3 separate regions of the Homo sapiens genome follow, and regions 1 and 3 are each linked to region 2. The links are contacts of gene promoters, found by promoter capture Hi-C in human tissues and cell types (Jung and others, 2019). All regions are on one chromosome and are shown on one strand. Each heading gives the region's core, a stretch centred on a gene start or on the middle of the fragment in contact. The rest is flanking DNA. Distances are from core to core; before and after follow the strand shown. Region 1 overlaps SLC6A20 (solute carrier family 6 member 20). Region 2 holds the start of CCR1 (C-C motif chemokine receptor 1). Region 3 has its middle 14 kb from the start of LTF.

What was found. Contacts are between HindIII fragments. The study calls those that stand out against the background at their distance.
Region 1: a fragment that was not itself captured here is called in contact with the fragment with the promoter of CCR1 in region 2 in 1 of the 25 tissues and cell types used here (bladder).
Region 3: a contact is called between a fragment that was not itself captured here and the fragment with the promoter of CCR1 in region 2, in 4 of the 25 tissues and cell types used here (IMR-90 fibroblasts, aorta, bladder and 1 more).

The regions. Positions count from the first base shown.
Region 1 is chr3:45,760,823-45,764,346 of GRCh38, reverse strand. It overlaps SLC6A20 (solute carrier family 6 member 20), which reads left to right. Exons shown (of 11, transcript NM_020208.4): 9 at 1,275-1,434. Among named protein-coding and RNA genes, the nearest start is that of SLC6A20, 34 kb to the left of the region's middle. The HindIII fragment of the contact is 7,195 bases long and covers 1-3,524 here.
Region 2 is chr3:46,206,715-46,210,280 of GRCh38, reverse strand. CCR1 (C-C motif chemokine receptor 1) reads left to right here and starts at 1,968. Exons shown (of 2, transcript NM_001295.3): 1 at 1,968-1,999. The HindIII fragment of the contact is 6,364 bases long and covers 83-3,566 here.
Region 3 is chr3:46,476,824-46,480,170 of GRCh38, reverse strand. It overlaps a transcript of LTF not described here. Among named protein-coding and RNA genes, the nearest start is that of LTF, 14 kb to the right of the region's middle. RefSeq lists enhancers at 1,245-1,744, 1,745-2,246. The HindIII fragment of the contact is 7,156 bases long and covers 1-3,347 here.

The DNA.
Region 1 (3,524 bases), core at 315-2,814, 450 kb after region 2:
ACCTGTGAGATCCACTCATGTTGTTTCGAGCAGCGATCGTCTGCCCCTTTTTGTGCCTATACAATAATCCATTGTAAGGTGACATACCACAGTTTCTTTATCCATTCTGCTGTTGATGGACATTTCAGATCTTAGGAAATGAGCTGGCTTTTCCAATTACATCTCTCATGGTTTCACTCCCTGGCCCATCTGCTCCACTCCAATCAGGCAGTGCCTCAAGGACCCTGTGGCCTACACTACTCCGTCTCTGAAAACACCATTCCTTGACATGCAGGATGAATCAAACCCAGCTCCCAGGCCATCTCCTTCAAGCCCCGACCACTCCAGTTGGAGTTGCCCCCACCTCTTCAGAGTGCTGCAGCACTTAGACCCCCTCCTCAGGCCTGGTCTTTGTAGCCAACACTAGGTGTGCCCATAGCCTTCAGCCAGCGCATGGCCCCTTTCTCCTTGTGTGTCCCCGTCGGGATAGCAGGAGGGCTCGGTAGCTGGCAGTGTACGGTGTGCTAGTGGAAAGGGCAGGTGTGGGCTCTAGACTCAGACATGCATGGGGTCCCCAGGGAAGGCAGCTGGAGGGGCCTGGGATGAAGGCCCAGGTTCTGGAGGCTAAAGGGCCTGGGTCTGAATCCTCACTCTGCCATGGATGTGCTATGGGATGTCGGGGGAGCCTTAGACATCTCTGAGCCTTGCCTTCCCATCTGTGAAAGGGGGCTCCGGACACCTGCCTCAGAGGCCTAAGGGTCCAACGCATTGCAAGTGCCTGGCACAAGGGAGGATCTGGGTGGACATTTGTCTCTTCCCTGCCCCACCCTCTTCTGGGTGGAGGCAAGTCCTCTCTAGGAAGTCCTGATGGGGCCACTCCATATTCAAGCCTCCTCCCCTGATTCATTTCTCATGAGCTCCAGGGCTGAGTTGTTGGGATAAACAGCGGGGGTTATAATTGTAGACCCACAGCCTGGGCGGGATCCTGGAATGACAGTGCCCACTACGTCTGCTTGTTCATTGAGCTTTAAGCTCTGCCACCCCTGCAGGGCAGCTCAGTGAGTCAACATCAGTGACCCCTGCCAACACGCTTCGGGACACCATTGTGCCCCCTGCCCCACACACGTGGCACACACCTTCAGAGAGTCCAAACCATGACAGCTCTTTCAACCCATGTGGATGAAGCAATCAGCCAAAATTCCCTGAGGGCCGACGACCCCACTGTCCTGTAGAGAACTGGTAAGCAGTAGTGGGGGGGTCTCGGGCAGGTGAGCAGCTGGTCTTGTGGCCCCCAGGTCTGGTGTGCCTTGTCAACTGTGCCATTGGCATGGTGTTCACGATGGAGGCTGGGAACTACTGGTTTGACATATTCAACGACTACGCGGCCACACTGTCCCTGCTGCTCATCGTGCTGGTGGAGACGATTGCCGTGTGCTACGTGTACGGGCTGAGGAGGTGAGGAGGCCCAGGACCCTCATTTGCATAGGGAAAACACAGCCACAGAGGCCACGCCCCTCAAGGAAAACAGCTGTTTCTTGATGCACATCTTCACCTCTTCTTTAAGCTTCGCATCATGACTCAACGTTTGTTCTTTGCCCGCAGATCTCAGCTTATGCTCTGCCTCTATTCCATGCTCAGTTTGCTTCAGTGAATATCTTTTTCTCTATTCCCTGTACTTTTGCTTTGTATCATAGGCTGTTTTAGGGTTGACCCTGCTGGACCCCCACAGCTTACTGGGGCAGGGAATTGTGCCTCCAGGCACTGGATGCTCTGATCATCGGCCAACATCAGTATTTTCCAAGAACCCTGACCAAAGTCCAGTTGATAACTTAGACCTTAGAAAATTTGGCAGATTCAAAATTTAGTCAGTGAGGTTCTCAATCCCAGTGCACAGCACGGGACTGGAATGTTTTAGTTCTCCCCAGGTGATGGAATGTGCAGCTGGGGCAAGAGCCACTGGTCTAGAGCAACCTTCAAACTCGAGTGTGCCTCAGAGTCCCTTGGGCTGGTCAAACACAGCTGTGAGACTCACCCCCAGGGTTCTGATCAGGCAGGCCAGGGGAGGGCCAAGAATTCACATTTCTAGCAGGTTCCCAGATGAGTCTGGCACCCACACTTTGAGAACCACTGGCCTAGAGAGCTTTGCTACCTCAAGTGTGGTCCCTAGAGCGGGAGCAGCAGCAACAAGGCGCTCGTTGGGACTGCAGAAGCTCGGGCCCACCCCATCCTGCTGAATCAGATCCTGTATCTTCACACTATGTCCAGGGGGCCTGAGGCACATCACAGTTTGGGCAGCGCTGCTCTAGTGGGTGCGGTTTGGGCGAGGAGGCTGTGCCACGTTGTTTTCTGCCCTCTTCCCCAGTCTTTTTGATCCTCTGTGCTGGTTCAGGGTGGGGAGGGAGACATTGACAACACTCTGGGAGGCAGGCATCCCTGAAGCAGCAATCCCTGCTGTGTCCCCGGAAAGGCCAGGGTCCCGTGCCATGCTGAGGGATCTCCCATGATCCATCAGGACATAAGTTAAACAAAGCCAAATTGATGTCTTTCCCGTAGGACTTCTCAGAATCTTAAAGACAGTTGTGGATCCCAAAGAGAGGGTTAGAATTGCAGCATTTCCAGACTTACTTGGTCAAGGAATGCCTTTTCACCCTCCTCTCACCCGACTCCCACCCTTAGCTACTAACATTTTGAGGACACTAGTGTTAAGGGGACCAACTCTCCCTGTTTCCCCAGGATTGAGGGGTTTTCTGGGACGTGGAACTTTCAGTACTAAAATTGGGAAAATCCCTGGTCACCTAGGAAATGCCAGTCTAGAGGGAGAAAGAGATTGGTCACTGAGAGGGTGAGTGTTTCAGGATAAAAAGAGAAGGTTGGGAGAGAGGAACAGAACCTAGGGCCCGCTGGAGGTCACTAGATGGGTGAGGGGCACAAGTCCATCAAAAAGGGGCTGGTGAAGGGAGACAGAGGCAGAAACAAACGTGCCTTGGAGATGTCGTAGGTGGACTGACCATGTAAGTGGCAGGAGGGGAGTGCTTCGGCTTGCTCAGGTGACACCGCCATCTAGTGACCACCCAGCAACAGTGTCCTGGGGCTTTTCTGCAGCCAGCTCTTCCCAACTTTCTCCATCCAGGAAAGGGGGGGGGGTTATGGGGGTGTGAAGGGACAAGAGGACCCCCAACACTTTTTCACCTGTCTGATTTTGAAAGCCCCAGGTTTTCGTGTCACATACATGAGCCTTCATGGCCTGCAGCCTAGAGTCCAACTACGTCAGCAGCAGCAAAGGGCAGGTGGTGGTCGCCACACAGCCTCGCATGGACACCCAGGACATGCAGCAGGTCCCAGGGAGGGAGGGGCTGTGGCTGCAGCTGGTGACGTCACACCCACACCACCCCAGCCCCTCCCGCCAAGGCTGCCTCTTCCGCTGTAGGGAGCAGGTTTAAAGGCTCTGGGCTGGAGGCAGGAGGCCAACCCAGGTTCTGGGCCTGGTCTTTACCAAGCCCTAAGGAAGAAGGCATCGCAGCCCTGGGCCTTGGTTCCTCCTGTGT
Region 2 (3,566 bases), core at 719-3,218:
GAGTGTGGGTGTGGGAGGGGAGACAGAGCAGGCAACTGAGCAGCCTCTTGTTTAGGCCTTGAGCTAAAGAGAGAAAGAAGGCTTCCTAGCTCATAGCTGGTCCAGCCTAACTCTTCTGAAGAAAGATCACATGGGACTCTGAGCCAAAAGCATTGAGAAAATCTAGATCCATGCCCCCCAAATTTAAGCATGCATCAGAATCATGCCAGTCTTTGTCAAAACCTGGATTGCTTGGCCGCATCCCCAGGATTTCTGAGTCAGTATATCTGGCATGTAACCCCAGAACTTGCATGGCTAGCAATGTCCCAGGGAATGTGAATGCTGCTGGTCCAGGGACCTCACTTTGAGAACCACTGCTCTAAAGGACTTCCTCACCCCTTCCCACCCTCGATGCACCCTTCCTTAGCCCAGGGTATTTCCCAGGCCACTACAAAAGCTGTTCCTCATTGTGGTAACTTGGTTAATTGTTTGTGATCCTTCCTAAGCTATAAGCTCTCAAAGAATGGATCCAGCCTCTTTCTTCACCACTATATCCCAAGCACCTAACACAATGTCCGGCACATTGTGAGTACTGAATAAATATTTGTTCAATGAACAAGCAGATTTGCCTGGTACATCCCCTCTGTGGAATGAAACCTAGAGCAGAGCTGGAAGCCTGGTCAAGGATGAGGTACTGACCATGTCCCTTACTTTAGACAGGATCAAGGAAAAGGCAGGCCTCACAAGCCTCTGTTCTCTTTGGAAACTGATCCACCAGCAAAGTACTGCAAATAGCCAGGCACATGCAGACCCCCATTTATTTCTTTGGGGTGAAGCTGAGTGATGATCAGATGTCAAGCTTAGGCCATCTTGTCTGAATTCTTCATTTTACAGATAAGAAAACTGAACCATGAAGAGACAAGTGATCTTTTCAAAGCACATTCACACTGATGATTTCTGAAACAGTGCTTTGTAGCAATGCCGTGAGGAAGGTTAGGGGTGTCCCCACTTTATAGAAGACACAAGGGCAGAGGCAGAGTAGGTGTTGGCAGTTGTGAGGAGAGTCACAGTACTCATCATTTGTCAGACATTTTTCACTGTGCCAGGCACTCTGACATTTTTCATGTACAAGTTGACTTCGTGCTTCTCCTCTGAGGTAAGCATTCAATACTCCCATTTAGCAGAGTAGGAACCAAGACTTAGAAAGGTGAGTGATCTGCCCATGTCACAGGTGGAGAGCTGGGATTTGAACTTGGCCCATGTTTGACCATCACGTAAAACAGGAATGGGGCATCAGAAAGGGAAGGTCAAAATGTAACCAACAGACCTATATTCCCTTCATGCTGGAGGTTCCTGGGGCAAAGCCACTCTCTGAGGTTTGGTGGGGAGGGACTTGGGGAGCAGAGAGCAGAGGGACAATGAGCTCCCAGAAGCCGAGGGGCATAGGGTGCCAAAGAGAAGCTGCTGCCTCTGTGAGCACCCATGTCAGTTAGTTTTGAGGAACAGGACTCAGGGTTCCAGTTTAAATCCTTCCATTCACAATCTTTAAGAAGAAGAAAAAAAAGAAGTCTGCCGCTGACCACAAGAGCTCTATGCCCTGCCCCCATCCCACATACACACATCCCACACTTCAATTGCTCCAAACATTCTGGGAACATCTCACTGCCACCCACCTCACCCAACTCAGCTTCACCTGCCCCCAATTCCCTTAAGGCTGAGCTCCCAGGGCCAAGACTCAAGAGGCTCAGAGTGAGCAGAGAAAATCCTCGCAGTTAACTTGGCTTCCAGGAAGTGGCCACTGGTGGGCGTTGTGGCCATTCATGAGCACCAAACCACACAAAAAGAAGAACTTTGTCCCTTTCTTGTCATTTTGAAAGACTGTGAAACTGGAGCCAATTCTCCATCATCACACAGGAAGCTGAGTACTTCCTACTTGGTCAGGATCTTGAAACTTGAATTCATAAAAACCCAGAAAGCCCCAGAAACAAAGACTTCACGGACAAAGTCCCTTGGAACCAGAGTAAGTGTCACTTGTCTTTTCTGTCTTATCTGTTACTGTGGAGGGCAGTGTTGTTCAAAGACATGCATGCAGCTAGGGGCTCCTCAAAGGTAGGGGGAATTCTTTGAGTAGGCTGGGCAAATGTCTAAGTAGCCCATGGATGCATCTCCAAGGCAATTAATACTGTAGCAATACTGAGAATGGTGGATTTATAAAGCTGGGTGCTCAGATGAAATATAGGCTTTTTTGCTAAAAAGGAAGCTTACTTGAAGGATTGGCTTTTGGTTACTGATTAAGAAAGTCAGTCAGTACTAAGGGACAAAAGGTGTTTTCTGTGGAAACCTATTCAATAAGAAATTACTTGGCGGGGCGCAGTGGCTCACGGCTGTAATCCCAGCACTTTGGGAGACCGAGGCAGGTGGATCATGAGGTCAAGAGATGGAGACAATCCTGGCCATATGGTGAAACCCTGTCTCTACTAAAAATAAAAATTAGCCGGGCATGGTGGCGCATGCCTGTAGTCCCAGCTACTCAAGAGGCTGAGGCAGGAGAATCACTCGAATCCGGGAGGTGGAGGTTGCAGTGAGCTGAGATTGCACCACTACACTCCAGCCTGGCGACAGAGCAAGAGTCTGTCTGAAAAAAAAAAAAAAATTGCTTGCCAAATTCCCCCATGTAAAGGAAAACCAAACATGGTGTATGAAGAAATTATAGCAAGAGGGAAATATTAGCTAGAAAAATCTTGGCAGATGCAAGGATGATTTGATACTGAACCTATCTCTTAAGAAGACTAGAACCAAGGATCCTCAAAATTGGCACTGCTATCTTTGGAAGAGGTAGGCTTTCACTCACCCAAAGGCAAGGAGCTGGCCAGGTGATCTTGGGGGGCATCTGTTCTGCTCTACTAACAAAGACACAGGTCAGGATTTTGTTCTGAAGATAGAGGGGCATGGTGGCTCCGTATAGGTATCTACTTCATAGGTGGTCTTGGTGGGTCCCAGATTTCAAAGAAGAGATGGAAACTCCCAAAAGTTTGCACAACCTGGCACCAGGCTATGTGCCACTCACTGATCCTTTAGTTCCCGCACCGAGCAGTGGGACAGTGCTGGACTGTTCAGAATGTGGGGCCTGGGCAGTGATGTGCTGGTAAATGTTCAACAACTGACTCTTCTGAAGAAAAGATCCCTGCTTTATAACATTTGTTGATTTTCATGGTATAAATGCCCCCACTGTGGTCAGTTTCAAGCTACCAACATGCTGAATGTGGAGTGGGGAAGAGATGCACGCAATTGGCATTTATAAACCAGTATAAGCCAGCCAGCGCACCATAGGCCTGGGTGTCTTTCACCATCACAGACTGCTCTATCTCTGCTCAGAGACTTCACCAACTCCCAGGCTGGAGGACACTAGCAGTGGAGGGTCCAGGATCCAGGGCTATAGCTGACCACTGTGCAGTGGCCTTGAGGCAGACTTCTGCAGTAGACTACAGCAGGGCTGGCAGATTAGATGACAACATGGTCCTTTGGTTTCTCTTCTCGGGCCCCACCCCAGATCACCTCCCTTTAGGAACAGCATGCCTTGGAGTGGT
Region 3 (3,347 bases), core at 196-2,695, 270 kb before region 2:
TAGCAACAATGCCATTCTGAATGGCAGCGAGTCAGGGAGCTGGCTCTTCCACGATCCACCTGGGTGTCCGGGGTCTGTCAGTCTTACCATGATTAGAATGGAGCTTCTGATCCACCTCCTCCTCAATCTGCTTTATTCCCAGTCTTCCCCATCTCAGTTAATGAAACTACCTCCTTTTAGTTTCTCAGGCCAAACACCTTGGTGCCATCATCCACCTCTCTCCTTCACACCCCACATCCCCTTGTAATGTAAGCAAATCCCATGACCTCCTCCTTTAAAATATGTCAAGAATCCAGCCATCTCACTATTTCTCCACTGCCACATCCTAATCAAAGCCACTTCTGGCCGGGCGCAGTGGCTCACGCCTGTAATCCCAGCATTTTGGGAGGCTGAGGTGGGTAGATCACTTGAAGTCAGGAGTTCGAGACCAGCCTAGAAACCAGCCATGGTGAAACCCCGTCTCTACTAAAAATACAAAAATTAGCCAGGGGTGGTGGCACTTGCCTGTAATCCCTGCTACTTGGGAGGCTGAGGCAGGAGAATCGCTTGAACCCTGGAGGCAGAGGTTGGAGTGAGTTGAGATCGTGCCACTGCACTTCAGACTGGGTGACAGAGCGAGACTCTGTCACAAACAAACAAACAAACAAACAAACAAACAAACAGAAAAGCCACTTCATCTCTCTCCCAGGTCACTGCTGGAGCCTCCCTAATCATCTCTCTGCTCCCCACTTGTTCTGCCTCTCAGTCCATTCTCAGCCTTCTGCCTTGGCTCCTACATCCTCAGAGTAAAAGCAGATGGTCTTCTAGGTACCCACAGGGCCCCACAATTCCCGGGCCCTGTAATCTCCCCCTCAATCACTTGGTTCCGGCCAAACCCACTTTGTGGAGGTTGCTGGAAGATGCCAGGGTGGGAGAGAGGGGGCTATGGGGTTTTCCCTGCCTGTCACAGGTCAGGCTGCCCCTCCTCCAGAGCTGCCACAGGTGGGAGGCAGATTCCCTACCACGCACAGAGCCTTGGGCACAGGCGTGGTTCTCCATGCTTCTTCTGTTACCGTGGTCCATGGACATTCTCATCTCCTATGGTGGTAACTGACTATTCCCTTGTCTGTTGCCCTTGGGGGCAGAACTGAGTCTAACTCAGTTTGGTGACCCAGTACCTAACAAGGACCTGGTCCAGGATAAATGCTCTGTGAGGATGGCTTTAGTTGAGGGAACCCCTCTAAGTGCAAGGAGTCAGGAAGCTGGATTCTACCTGGCCGCACTGTGTCAGGTCTGAGCAGGCCACACGCCCTCTCTGGGCTTAGAGACCTCATTTGTAAAATGGCATAAAAAATATTATTTTCTGAGAGTGTCTGATTTTCTTGGTCAAATTATTTCAAGGTAGTAACCTCAAGCCAGAATATTTCCAAATATCCTGGAAATTGCTCACTTTTGTGACTCTTTCCTCCATTTCCAAATAGCCATCAGGTTCTGCTTCATCTACGAGGTCCCCAGGCCCACCCACTAGTTCCTCATTCTGCCAGTCATCTTCTGCCCTACCCTCTTCTGTCCTCCCCTTGGCCCTCTAGCATCTACGTTGCATCCTGCGGCTGCTTCCTCATCCAGCTGCACTGTCCAGGAAGATGGGGAGTGATGGTTAAGAGCGGGGTGGACCTGGCCTCACCCTTTGGTCCCTGGCACTCTCTAGGGACCCTGCTCATGCCTGCTGATAGCACTGTGGAGAGCAAAGTGTGTCACCTGCCCTTTGTCACCAACATAGCGACCTTCAGCCTCTGGGGAAGTGACTGAGTGGCCACATGGGTTCTGGGAAAGCTTCCCTTGTAGCCCAGAGACCCTTGGAGGGGGAGAGAGAAGATGTGTGGAGCAAAGCCAAGACTGACAGTCGGGACGCAGCTGGGTTACTGGTGAGCAGAAATTCAAGGAGGCTGCCCAGGCTGCTGAGAGGGGCCATTAGGAAAAGTCTCAGGGCAGTGGGGCGGGAAGAGGGCATGATGGTGAGAGAGACAGAGAACTGGAGAGAGAAGTGGACGTCATAAAAGAGAGAGGAGTGAAAGAGTTACAAAGGGTTGCAGATAACAGGACAGAATGTGGGCATAAGGAGTGTGGGTGTGGAGAGGGGCCCAAGGAATCACAAAGACAGATGTCTGTAAAAGGGCTGGGGCACGCTGCTGGGTTAGCTTGAGAAGGAAGACTGGGGAAAGTGGCTCCCGCTCGGCCCTCTGTCCTCCCTGTAGGGTGAACTTGCCTTTGCTAACACCTTCTGTTGGATTGTGACTCAACTGGAGCCGCCTGGGGAAAGGGAACTCTTTGCAGATTCCCAGGACTCTGCATAGGTTCTGGCTCACAACGGGGACCAGAAATGCATGGAAACAATAACAATAATAGTTAATATTGACTGAGTTTTCACTGTATGGTTTGGCCTTGTACTGAAAATCTTACATCCATTCATTTATTAATTCACACACCCATTCCTTCGTTCAAAAAATATCGATTGAGCAGCCCCTATGTGCTGGGCACTGTTCTAAGCATCTTTATAAGTTACTTCATTAAGTTCTAACAATTTTATGAGGGAGATGCTTTTAGTATTCCTATTTTCACATGGGGACACTGAAGCTGAGACAGGCTGAATGACGTGGCTAGATCTGGGGAGTGGGGAAGAGGTAGAGCTGGTTTCAAACTCCCCTGCCTGCGATGTTTAACCACTCTCATCACTGACCCTGCCTTTCAGGCACCAGACTACCCAGTGAATCAAAGGGACAAGGGAGTCGCCTAGAATGCAGGTGTGGCCTTGGGATGTGCTCAGAAGGGCCAGGCTTCATCTGGGCTTAGAAGAGCTGAGGGAGGAGGAGCCCTGGGCTCCCTCACAGAGGCAAGTGGAGGGAAATGGTGACTCTGAAGAATATTGAAAGAACTATCCGCCAATGAGAAAAAGCCTTACCAAATAATCAAACAATGGACAAAAGACATTCCCAAACAGAGTGGCTGAAATGAAAAAGACAGACAATGGCAGTGTTGGCAAGGATGTGAAGCCCCTAGAACTCTCATATACATTGGTGGGAATATGAATTGCTACAATTAACTTTGGAAAACTAGCAGAATTTTCTAAAGCAGAACGTAGTCATATGCTGTAAAACTCCATTCCTAAGTACATGACCAACAGAAAAGAATACATATGTTCGCTTCAGCACCATTGTAATAACCCCAAGTTAGAAACGACCAAAATATCTATTACCAATAGAATAGACAGGTAACTTTGGTACACTCACATACATAAAGATTATACAGAAGTGAGCATGTAAGAGCTATTTCTTTATGGAACAACATTGGAGAATCTAATAAACAAAATT